Regions from separate parts of the Homo sapiens genome. Here region 1 is linked to region 2. Evidence: promoter capture Hi-C in human tissues and cell types (Jung and others, 2019). All regions are on one chromosome and are shown on one strand. Each heading gives the region's core, a stretch centred on a gene start or on the middle of the fragment in contact. The rest is flanking DNA. Distances are from core to core; before and after follow the strand shown. Region 1 overlaps TEAD1 (TEA domain transcription factor 1). Region 2 holds the start of PARVA (parvin alpha).

What was found. The method cuts DNA at HindIII sites, captures the fragments that hold promoters and counts their contacts. A contact is called where the count stands out against the background at its distance.
Region 1: a contact is called between a fragment that was not itself captured here and the fragment with the promoter of PARVA in region 2, in 1 of the 25 tissues and cell types used here (lymphoblastoid cells).

Annotation. Positions count from the first base shown.
Region 1 is chr11:12,909,647-12,914,663 of GRCh38, forward strand. The region is part of intron 10 of TEAD1 (TEA domain transcription factor 1); the gene reads left to right. Among named protein-coding and RNA genes, the nearest start is that of TEAD1-AS1, 11 kb to the right of the region's middle. RefSeq lists an enhancer at 4,285-5,017. The HindIII fragment of the contact is 4,507 bases long and covers 575-5,017 here.
Region 2 is chr11:12,375,519-12,380,051 of GRCh38, forward strand. It overlaps PARVA (parvin alpha), which reads left to right and starts at 2,053. Exons shown (of 13, transcript NM_018222.5): 1 at 2,053-2,265. The coding sequence starts at 2,130. The HindIII fragment of the contact is 6,514 bases long and covers 547-4,533 here.

The DNA.
Region 1 (5,017 bases), core at 1,578-4,077, 530 kb after region 2:
CAAAATTAAACAAAAAAGCATCTTCTCCACCCCTAGGCAGAGGAGTAGGTTGTGACTGGTTATTATCACCTGACCCTGGCCAGCATAGAAGACATCTTGCCATTCCCTGGACACCTTAGTTGAGTTATTTGCACTTTATAGTACCATAGCAGTTGAATTTTAGCTTAAATTTAAATCCCTAATTAAACCATCTCGGAAAATTACGCATTGATGTGGCATTGAAATTGTTATTATGGTTCAAGAGGAGTTTTGGAACCAGATTTTTTATAAATGAGGCAAGTACTTGTACTGGCAGCTAGTCATACTTCTTTTTTCCTTACAAAACATGATCAGGTGCTGTGTAGGCTCTAGGAAAGAGGGATGTCCACCCACAAATGGATGAAGCTGTGCTTCATTGCAGCATTGAGATTCAGGCAGATGGATTGCCAGTGACGTGGCAGACAGTGCAATTAATGTAACAAAATGTCAACAGCCTTGGGAATTGATCATAGATTGAATTCCCAGAGCTAGAAGACATGAGTATGATTCAGTCATGCATCCCGAAGGACAAAAACCCAAGTGTAGCTCACAGCTGACTGTCAAAAGCAGTTAATTTCTAGCTATATGAAGTTTACAGAAGGAAATAAAATTACAGATTTAACCAAATAAGACATGCAATTGAGACTAATACCTTTGGAGGGGCCTCAGAATTCTATTTCCTGTCCTAATAATGTTCAAGGGTGTCAAGATTGGAAACACTGCTCTAAAGAAAGCTGTATGCTTTTAACATTCTATTCATAAACATTATAACCCAAAACTATTCATAATAATAATTAGTACAGTAAAGGCTTAGTCTTAAACTTTGATTGGAATAATAAAGAAGAAAGCAATATGAAAGTGAAATCTTACGGATTTGTATCATGTTGCCAGGTTATAACAAATTTTTAAATATACATTTAATATTTCTGCTTTCACTCTAATCATTATCAAATTAGTCATATCTTAGAAACCAGGATATATGATGTTATCCTATACTTATTTAAAATTGTTTTGTATTTTAAAATTCTTGGGATTATGATCATTCAGTGTAAACAATACTGTCTACATAGTTACTTAATTTGCTTTTTTTTTTTTTTTTTGAGATGGAGTCTCGCTCTGTCTCACAGGCTGGAGTGCAGTGGCACAGTCTCGGCTCACTGCAACCTCTGCCTGTCGGGTTCAAGCGATTCTCCTGCCTCAGCCTCCCGAGTAGCTGGGATTACAGGCACCTGCCACTGTGCCCAGCTAATTTTTGTATTTTTGGTAGAGATGGGGTTTCGCCATGTTGGCCAGGCTGGTCTTGAACTCCTGACCTCAGGTGATCCACCCGCCTTGGCCTCCCAAAGTGCTGGGATTACAGGCGTGAGCCACCATGCCTGGCCAATTTACTTTCTTAACCTATTATTTTTAAAGGAAGAAAAAGCAAGCCTACTTTTACTAACCATAGCAGATGTGAGAAGATTTTATAAAACAAAAAAAGGGGAAGCAAGTTACCTGGAAAGAGGACAGCCATTAGAAGATGCTTTTGTCTTGGTAGAAATGAAATCACATTTGTTCAACAAAATGACAGTCACTCTACATAAAACTGGGTTTTATTTAAAGAGAAGAAACTGGGCGCACAATAACCCAGCAGAACAGACCCCACCCCCATTGGAGTCTCAGCTTGTTTCTAATTGTATTCTGCATGATTTAGATTGGAATTGTAGACCTGAGTCTGTCATTTGGAACCAAACGTCCTGTTGCTATTCATGGAAGAGGGAGTTAACAATACGAAATCGTTTGCTTTCCACATGTTTTGAACTGCTATCAGGAAGGAGGGGCCTTTCAGCTCAATAAGTTTTCCATTTCTCCCTACTTCTGTCTCATCTCAAAATGCGTTTTAAAGTTAACTGAACAATATTAAGTGATGAAATGATTTAAGTAGAAGAAAGATTAGTGAGAAGTATCACGATATTCAGAGGTACTTGGGGGCTAATACATGTTAAATTTTAAGTAGACTGTGGTTACATGAGTCTTTTTTTTTTTTTTTTAATTATCTCTTGATAGGCCCTGCTATTGTAAGCACAGGAAGAGAGAAATCAATACATTTGTATATCTGCCCATTTTGGTTTGTTTTCGTAAGAAAAATATCTGGAGCTTGTGAGCACTTTCTGTGGTGACTGCTGCTTGGGATTGCTCCTTCCTGGTTCCCGAACCCTGGATGCCAAACTTCTTTGTAGGCCTTTCTAAGGGAGCGTACCCTGTCTGTGGCCTGTGTTCAGTGCTGCAATGTATATAATAGATTTTCAAGGCTTTTTTTTTTTAAGTTACCTGGAAAGTTATTTTATTTCAATCAGTAAATGGTCCTAAAGAAATTGCTGTGCATTGGGCACTCTGCCACATTGCCAACTCACATTACCACCTGAGAGTTTGTTGAGGAATCATCCGCAAGCAATTCGTAGGAGGAAAAGGAGACCTCAAGAGACTCACTTGAAAGCTTTTCTGGGCCATCTCGTTGCTAGAAAGTCATTCAACAAACATTTGCCAATGTCGTCTTTGCTTCTGGAAAACTGGGAAGCAGATGTGATTGAGAGTTCTGATTTGCAGGCTCAGGGTCTGGTGAGGGATGGCAGACATGTGGGCAGGTGAACAACAGCACCGAGGGGTGGGAGCTGTAGTGGAAGTGGGCAGAAGTTGCTGTGGAAGCACAGAGGTGGAACCCTTTTTGCCTGAGAACATTTCGGAAGGGCTCACAAAGACATGGCATTTAAACAGAATCTTGATAGAATTTGGTCAGTGCAAGGGGAGTGAGAAGGAGTTTTCAGGGCAGTGGATACTCATGTACAGACAAGGAGTCCTGGGAGGTGGCGAGAGGTCCCCATGGCCACTGGGGCTTACCGAACTCAGAGAATAGGGAGAGATGTGGGTGGAAACCCTGGTCACAGGGGCATTCACTTCAAAAGACCATACCTGAATCCTCTGAAAGCCTAAAACGTAGTAGGAATGAAATCATGGATTTCACAGGATAGGATAGCTTGGAAAATGAGCACAAGAGCTTACATTGCTTTTCCTCCCATCCTCTTCTATCAAACCACAGATACTTCTCTTTTTTTTAAACCTTTGACTCTGAAGTCTTCAGGGCTTCCGGGCAGAATCTCTTGCATTGGGAGTTGCCTTGACCTGGAGGAATTCATTCCAACAGCTATTCCTAAAAGACTTTCTGTCCTGGGTCCTTTGTCTCTGTGATTGCTAAGAAAGCCCAGGTCAGGGGTCTGTCCCTTCCTTCTGGGGCCATTTAATTCCACTCCCTTCTGTGGCTACAGACTGAGATGCTAAGCCACGATCCCACCTGAGCTGCTGCCACAATTAGCTTGATTCATGCTGTCACCTTTACCATTTCACCTCAAGAAAAACCTGAGAAGGAAAGAATTGATGTGCCATAGTCGGGGTGGCTGCATATTTTCAGACCCAGTTTTGCAAGGCGTAGTTGGATTAACTGGACACTTCAGGGATCTCAGTCAGTTGCTTAAAACTGAACCTAGGCCCTTGGTGGTGTGAGAGACCCCCTCTCCATGTGCAGGTAAAGATCCACGGTACCTCCTACCCCCCAGTCCACCCCATGTTAATTTACTTTTTAAATTAAAAAAGTGATGCAGGTTTGTTATGAATAGTTTGAGCAGTTGAAAAGAATATAGAATAAAAAGTGAGATCCTCCTTGCACACATACATGCCTGTGGTCAGCCAGATCCCAAAATTTGGAATGTATCCTTTTAGACTTATACGTATGTATCTACAACCATTATACGTATACATATACATCACTTGTTTTTACTAAAAAGGGATTATGCTCCAAGTGTTTCCTGCAACTTCATTTTCCCTACCTAAAGTGTCTTGGACATATGATGCCTTTTACAGCAATGAGAATTTGAGGGTAAGTCTCAGTTTTTATTCTCTGTGGTAAAGGTTTCTTGATAAGTAGAGTTGTCAGATTTATCAGGTTGCCCAGTTAAATTTGCATTTCAAATAAACAGTGAATACTTTTTTGGTGTACATGTCCTATACAGTATTTGGTATATATGTTCATATGTACTGAAAAAGTATTTGCTGTTCATTTGAGATGTGAGTTAACTGGGTTCCCCGTTTTATCTGGCAGCTCTGCACTTGTTAGTTCACTTACGTATCATTGGCTTGGGGTTGTTATTGTTGTTCTATGAAAAACTTTTCATGCACAAAACCTTGAAACCATAAAAAGGTCCTGTTTCCTGGGAAAGGTGGTGTCTGGGCCAGTGTTCACACACCTGATGAATGAGAAAGGTTTGGGGCCAGCTCAGCTGGGCACCCAGAATTCATTACTTGCCTCTATTGGAAAGAACTGGCCCGTGTAGCTGCTTTGTAGTTGGAGCTGAGACCTGACTCTTTCATCCTAGCCACTATGTGAAGTTGCCACTAGTGGTCACCTGAAGTTGTGTGGGTGATATTAATTGAATTTTTGAAAAACTAAATGCTGGTATTTGTAGGAATTTGCAGTGCAGACGGGCAGCCTTTCAACCAGTGCATAGCATAATTAGAGCAAGCTTTTAAGATTCTTTGAAGTGCCAAATGTTTATGAAATTCAAATAGGGGTGCCAATCTGCACAATAAAGGGGCCCTTGGTGGTGTTTTTAAAAATCTTCTATTTTGTAGATGTAAATATATGCCATAATTAGCGGGAAGTAACTTGAAGAGCCACGGCTGAGTTTATTCCTATTATTCTTATTTAAAACAGCTGTGGCAGGCAGGCTACAGCTGCTGTCTCATCATTGGGTTGGGCAGGGCATAAGGGCCGAAGTGAACACACTCAAAGACTCTTTTCTGAGGGCAGCTCGTTCACTCCCCCTACATGCTGGCTTCCTTGCTGGGGAGCTGTCTCACGGTTGGCCCAGCTTCCCCACCCACCCCAAGCCTCTGAATGTCAATGGGACTGGCTTCAAGGGTCTTAGCCAGAAGGCACTTGCCTGCAAATGAGAGGGCGAGGAGCCTT
Region 2 (4,533 bases), core at 803-3,302:
AAGCCTTGCATACAGATATTAGCAATTTTTGAAAGAATAAAGAACCACAGACTGTTAAGAGCTGAAAGTAGCCCTAAATGGCAAGACATCAGGGTGTGAATCAGCTATTAATACATCGAAATCACCTGATGTAGTCTGTTTAAAAAACACCTATCCCTTGGTTTCACCTGAGATCGACTGAATCAGAATTTCTGGAGATGGGGCCTGTGAATGCAACAAACTTCTAAGCGACTGTGATGCACGATCGAGTTTGAAAACCACTGTTCTGTGCCAACCATTTCATTTTGTAGATGAGGAAATGGAGACTCAGAAAAGGGAGTAAACCTTTCCAAGATCACACCGCTATTGAGCTACGTGTCTCTTAATTCCCTGACAAGAGCTCTCGGGGCTGGAGATACGCTTTTGGAGATGTCCTATATCTGATATCCTGAACAAAAATGATTAATGATGTAATCAAAACACACTTATATTTTGGCTTCTCACCATCCCTTTAAGATTTATTGTCTAGGAGGAGTTGTAGTAATCTTCCCAGGCTAGCAGACATCATGACTTTTCTGCTGTTAAGTAAGAGGCACCAACTAAAGCAGATTTTTTTTTTTTTTAAAAAAGGTAAAATTAAGACTCTTAAGATAAAATGAACCTATACGGTGTTGAGAATCTGTTGACTATCTTTTTGTTAAATTTTAGTTCTACTCAGAAACTGTTGCTTGTCACTTTATTTAGTTTAAGGAACTGTGGATGGGTTAATAAAAGGCTGAGTAACATCTCCTGGGAAGAAGCACAGCTGGCCCTGGCAGGAAGTGCAAGTGGGGTCTGGGAAAAGATTCAAGGTCCAAGCAGCTACTCCCCACGGTTTCCATTACTCAGACCACGTGGCTTCTTGAGCACACTTCTTTGCTCCATTCTTTGGTTTCCCTACTCCTCAGCATGCACGTGGCTAGAAACAGCCACCCTAGTTTTGATTGCGAATGATCATCAGTCACGAGCACAACTTCTGACAACAGTCTCTCCAGCTTAGTGCAGTCTTAACTGGGGCCAGCTGATCGTCTGCTCTTCAGTAAAGCAGTAGCGCCCTTTGGATTAGGTGTTCACCCAGGTTCAATCAGCTGTGGCCTAGAAGGGGCCACAAGGAGGAAACACAGTTGCCAAGGTGCTGTGAGTCTGTGTGTGAGAGACAGACAGAAGGACAAAGAGCCAGAGTGAGAACTTGAGATGGGTAAGCTCAATAACACGTGCCTTTTAATCATTTCCAGTATGAGTCCTTCAAACACTGTGCTTTGTATGACTCCCCTGTTATCTCAAATGAGTCTGGTTGTCACTCTCTTGCTTTTATTTAGGCAGGATAAATTTTGCGGGAAGTCCTGTAGGAGCTCATGGTTGTGCTTTTCCCATTCATGTTTCCACCACCACGTGGGATCTTCCTTTGTATAAGCTGCTGGAAACACGGATGTCTTACAAGAATAAGAAGCCTCGGCTTTACCCTTGTGCACTCCAAGCTTCTCAGTCTTGGATGGGAGTAGAGACGAGGAGGTTGACGGTCATGGATAGGTTCAGGAGTGATTGGTTCTGCCCACTTTGGTGGGGCCTGGACACATTTTGGTTCACTGCAATAATTTCTTCCAGGAGCTGCAGTCTTGTGGGCGCAAGACGTGGGCCTGATAACCCCACAGGCAGTAGTGCTGGGGCAGAGCGAGCTCACCAGCCGCCGGCTGGAAGACCCCGGGAGAGTAGCAGGGTTGGGTTGGTTCTCAGATGTGTTTTGCGCCAGGCTGTGTGGTGGGGACAGAGCCTGGGTAAATGAAGCTTTCCGGCTCGACCGCTCCCAACCTGGGCACACACGTCCTCCTGTCCTGCAAGGGGCAGTTTTGGGGCATCCTCCCTGCTTGGGGCAACCCAGGGGCGCAAGGCGCGGCCCCGGGAGCGCAGCTCCTTCCAGGGCAGAGGGCGGCGCGAGGGAGGGAGCGAGGGAGGGAGCGAGGGAAGGGAAAGGCGAGCGTGAGCTGCCTCAAATGCTTGGAATAATTCCGCTTCCGTTTGGAAAGCCGCAGCCTCAGTCCCGCCGCCGCCCGCTGCGTCCGCCCAGCGCCAGCTCCGCGTCCCGACCGGCCCGCGGCAGCCTGCGCCGCGCCATGGCCACCTCCCCGCAGAAGTCGCCTTCTGTCCCCAAGTCTCCCACTCCCAAGTCGCCCCCGTCCCGCAAGAAAGATGATTCCTTCTTGGGGAAACTCGGAGGGACCCTGGCCCGGAGGAAGAAAGCCAAGGAGGGTGAGTGCGGCCAGGCCGGCCGGGCGGGCGGTAGGAGCCGGGGGTGCCGTAGGGGCCGAGGGGCCGGGGCACTGGGACCGGGCGGGAGCGCGCCGCGGGTGCCCGGCGCGGTGGGGCGCGCGGCGATGCGTGCGCGCGCTTCCCGGGTACGTCGGGCAGGAGCGACGCGCACCCCACACTGAGCCCGGGGCTCGCGGGCCATCGAGGCCACCCCGCCCGCTCGCGGTCGCCCGGGCGCTGCCCTCCTGGGCCGGGGACCAGGCCAACGCCCCCGCCGGGCCGTGGGCGGGCGCCGCTTGGCGGCCGGAGGCGGCGGGACCGGAGCCCAGGCGGGGCCCCAGCCCGCAGACAGTGCGATCCAGTAGGCCCTGCCCCGCCCTCTGCGCCCGAAGGCTGGCATTTCCCAAGTTTCCGCTGCAGCTTTCCTGGGCGCCGTCGCTCTTACTCGTTGCCTTCATTGGTCCTTAAAATCAGGTCGTTTCCTGGACCTGCTGACGTCCTCTGGCAGCGGCGTCGTGGCTTTGGCCTCTTCGGGATCTTTTGTCCATCCCGAGGGCTGAGAAGGGCTCTGTTAATGGAGTAGGTGGACATCGAGTGTTTGTTGAATGAATGAGCGAAAAACTGGCAAACCTAGCGTGCCCTCGGTGTAATACACAATAAACTCCCACCAAAGGAGAAAACCTGCGTGAGACACAAACTTCGTCATGGGCCTGCTGTGAACTCAGGCATTCAGGGCTTTCGTAAAAACCTTTGTTTTTTCCCCACCAGAGTGAATTGAGGCGACCTTATTCTTTTTTTTTTTTTTTTTTTTCAGGGTAGTTTGCATGTAAAATATTTTTTTTTCCCATGCACAGATTTTGCGTCCTGGTTTTTGGTTTGAAAACGAGGTGGCAGTTCTCAAGAAGCACTGTGGTGACTGGTGTGTAGATAGAAGTTGCTGAGTTAAACATTTTTGTTTTAAACATTTTTTAGTTGATGCATGATGTACATAGTTCTGGGGCACATGTGATAATGTAATACATTCATATAATTTGTAAAGATCAAATTGCACAGGAAAGGGGTCCCAGTCCAGACCCCAAGAGAGGGTTCTTGGATCTCACGCAAGAAAGAATTCAGGGTGAGTCCACACAGTAAAGTGAAAGCAAGTTTATTAAGAAAGTAGAGGAATAAAAGAATGGCCACTCCATAGACAGAGCAGCCTGGGGCTGCTGGTTGCCCATTTTTATGGTTATTTCTTGATGGTATGCTAAACAAGGGGTGGATTATTCATGTCTCCTCTTTTTAGACCATATAGGGTAACTTCCGGACGTTGCCGTGGCATGTGTAAACTGTCCTGGCGCTGCTGGGAGTGTATCAGTGAGGACGACCAGAGGTCACTCTTGTCGCCATTTTGGTTTTGGTGGGTTTTAGCCGACTTCTTTACTGCGACCTGTTTTATCAGCAAGGTCTTTATGACCTGTATCTTGTGCCCACATCCTATCTCATCCTGTAAGTTAGAATGCCTTAACCTTCTGGGAATGCAGCCCAGTAGGTCTCACTCAGCCTTGTTTTACCTGGCCCCATTCAAGATGGAGTTGCTCTGGTTCACATGCCTCGGACAAAATCACTGTACTTGGGATATCCATCACGTTAAAGATTTGTCTTTTCTCTATGCTAGACCACTGGAATTCTAGATATTTTGAAATATACAAGAGGTTATTGTAAAATATAGTTAGTTTACCAATCTAACACTAGGTCTTCTTATATCAAATGGTATATTTGTAACCATTAATCAACTTCTCTTCCCCCCTAAAAAATGTTTTTAATAGATTGCTCCATGAATTAGAAATAACCTTTTGAAAGCTGTGATGCTGTGTGAAATTTTCATGTTTGTAAGTCATCTTAAAGTATAAAAACATCTTCAGCGCTGAGGATTATCAGACTTGATGAAGAACTAGACTTCTATTCCCTAGATTGAAACGAGAAGCAGCAAAAACATACAAAAGTTTCCCCACATTGGTTATTTTGGTAACCCATCGAGTAGTGTACAGTTGGTGGCAAATCATGAAACCCTGGCTTGGGAAGCTCTTTTCTAGACCATGTTTCTAACTTCTTCCTTGCAGCATTCCTGACATAGTCTCATCCAGTTTAAGATGGGGCAACTGAGAAATATTGAAGCTCATGACCTACCAGGATAACCATCTTTACCTACTCTGTAGAAATTTATCTCTCTGTACCTATCACTGTTGGTAGAGCCAGAGAATGAGTCTGGGGTGGCCTTTTATTACT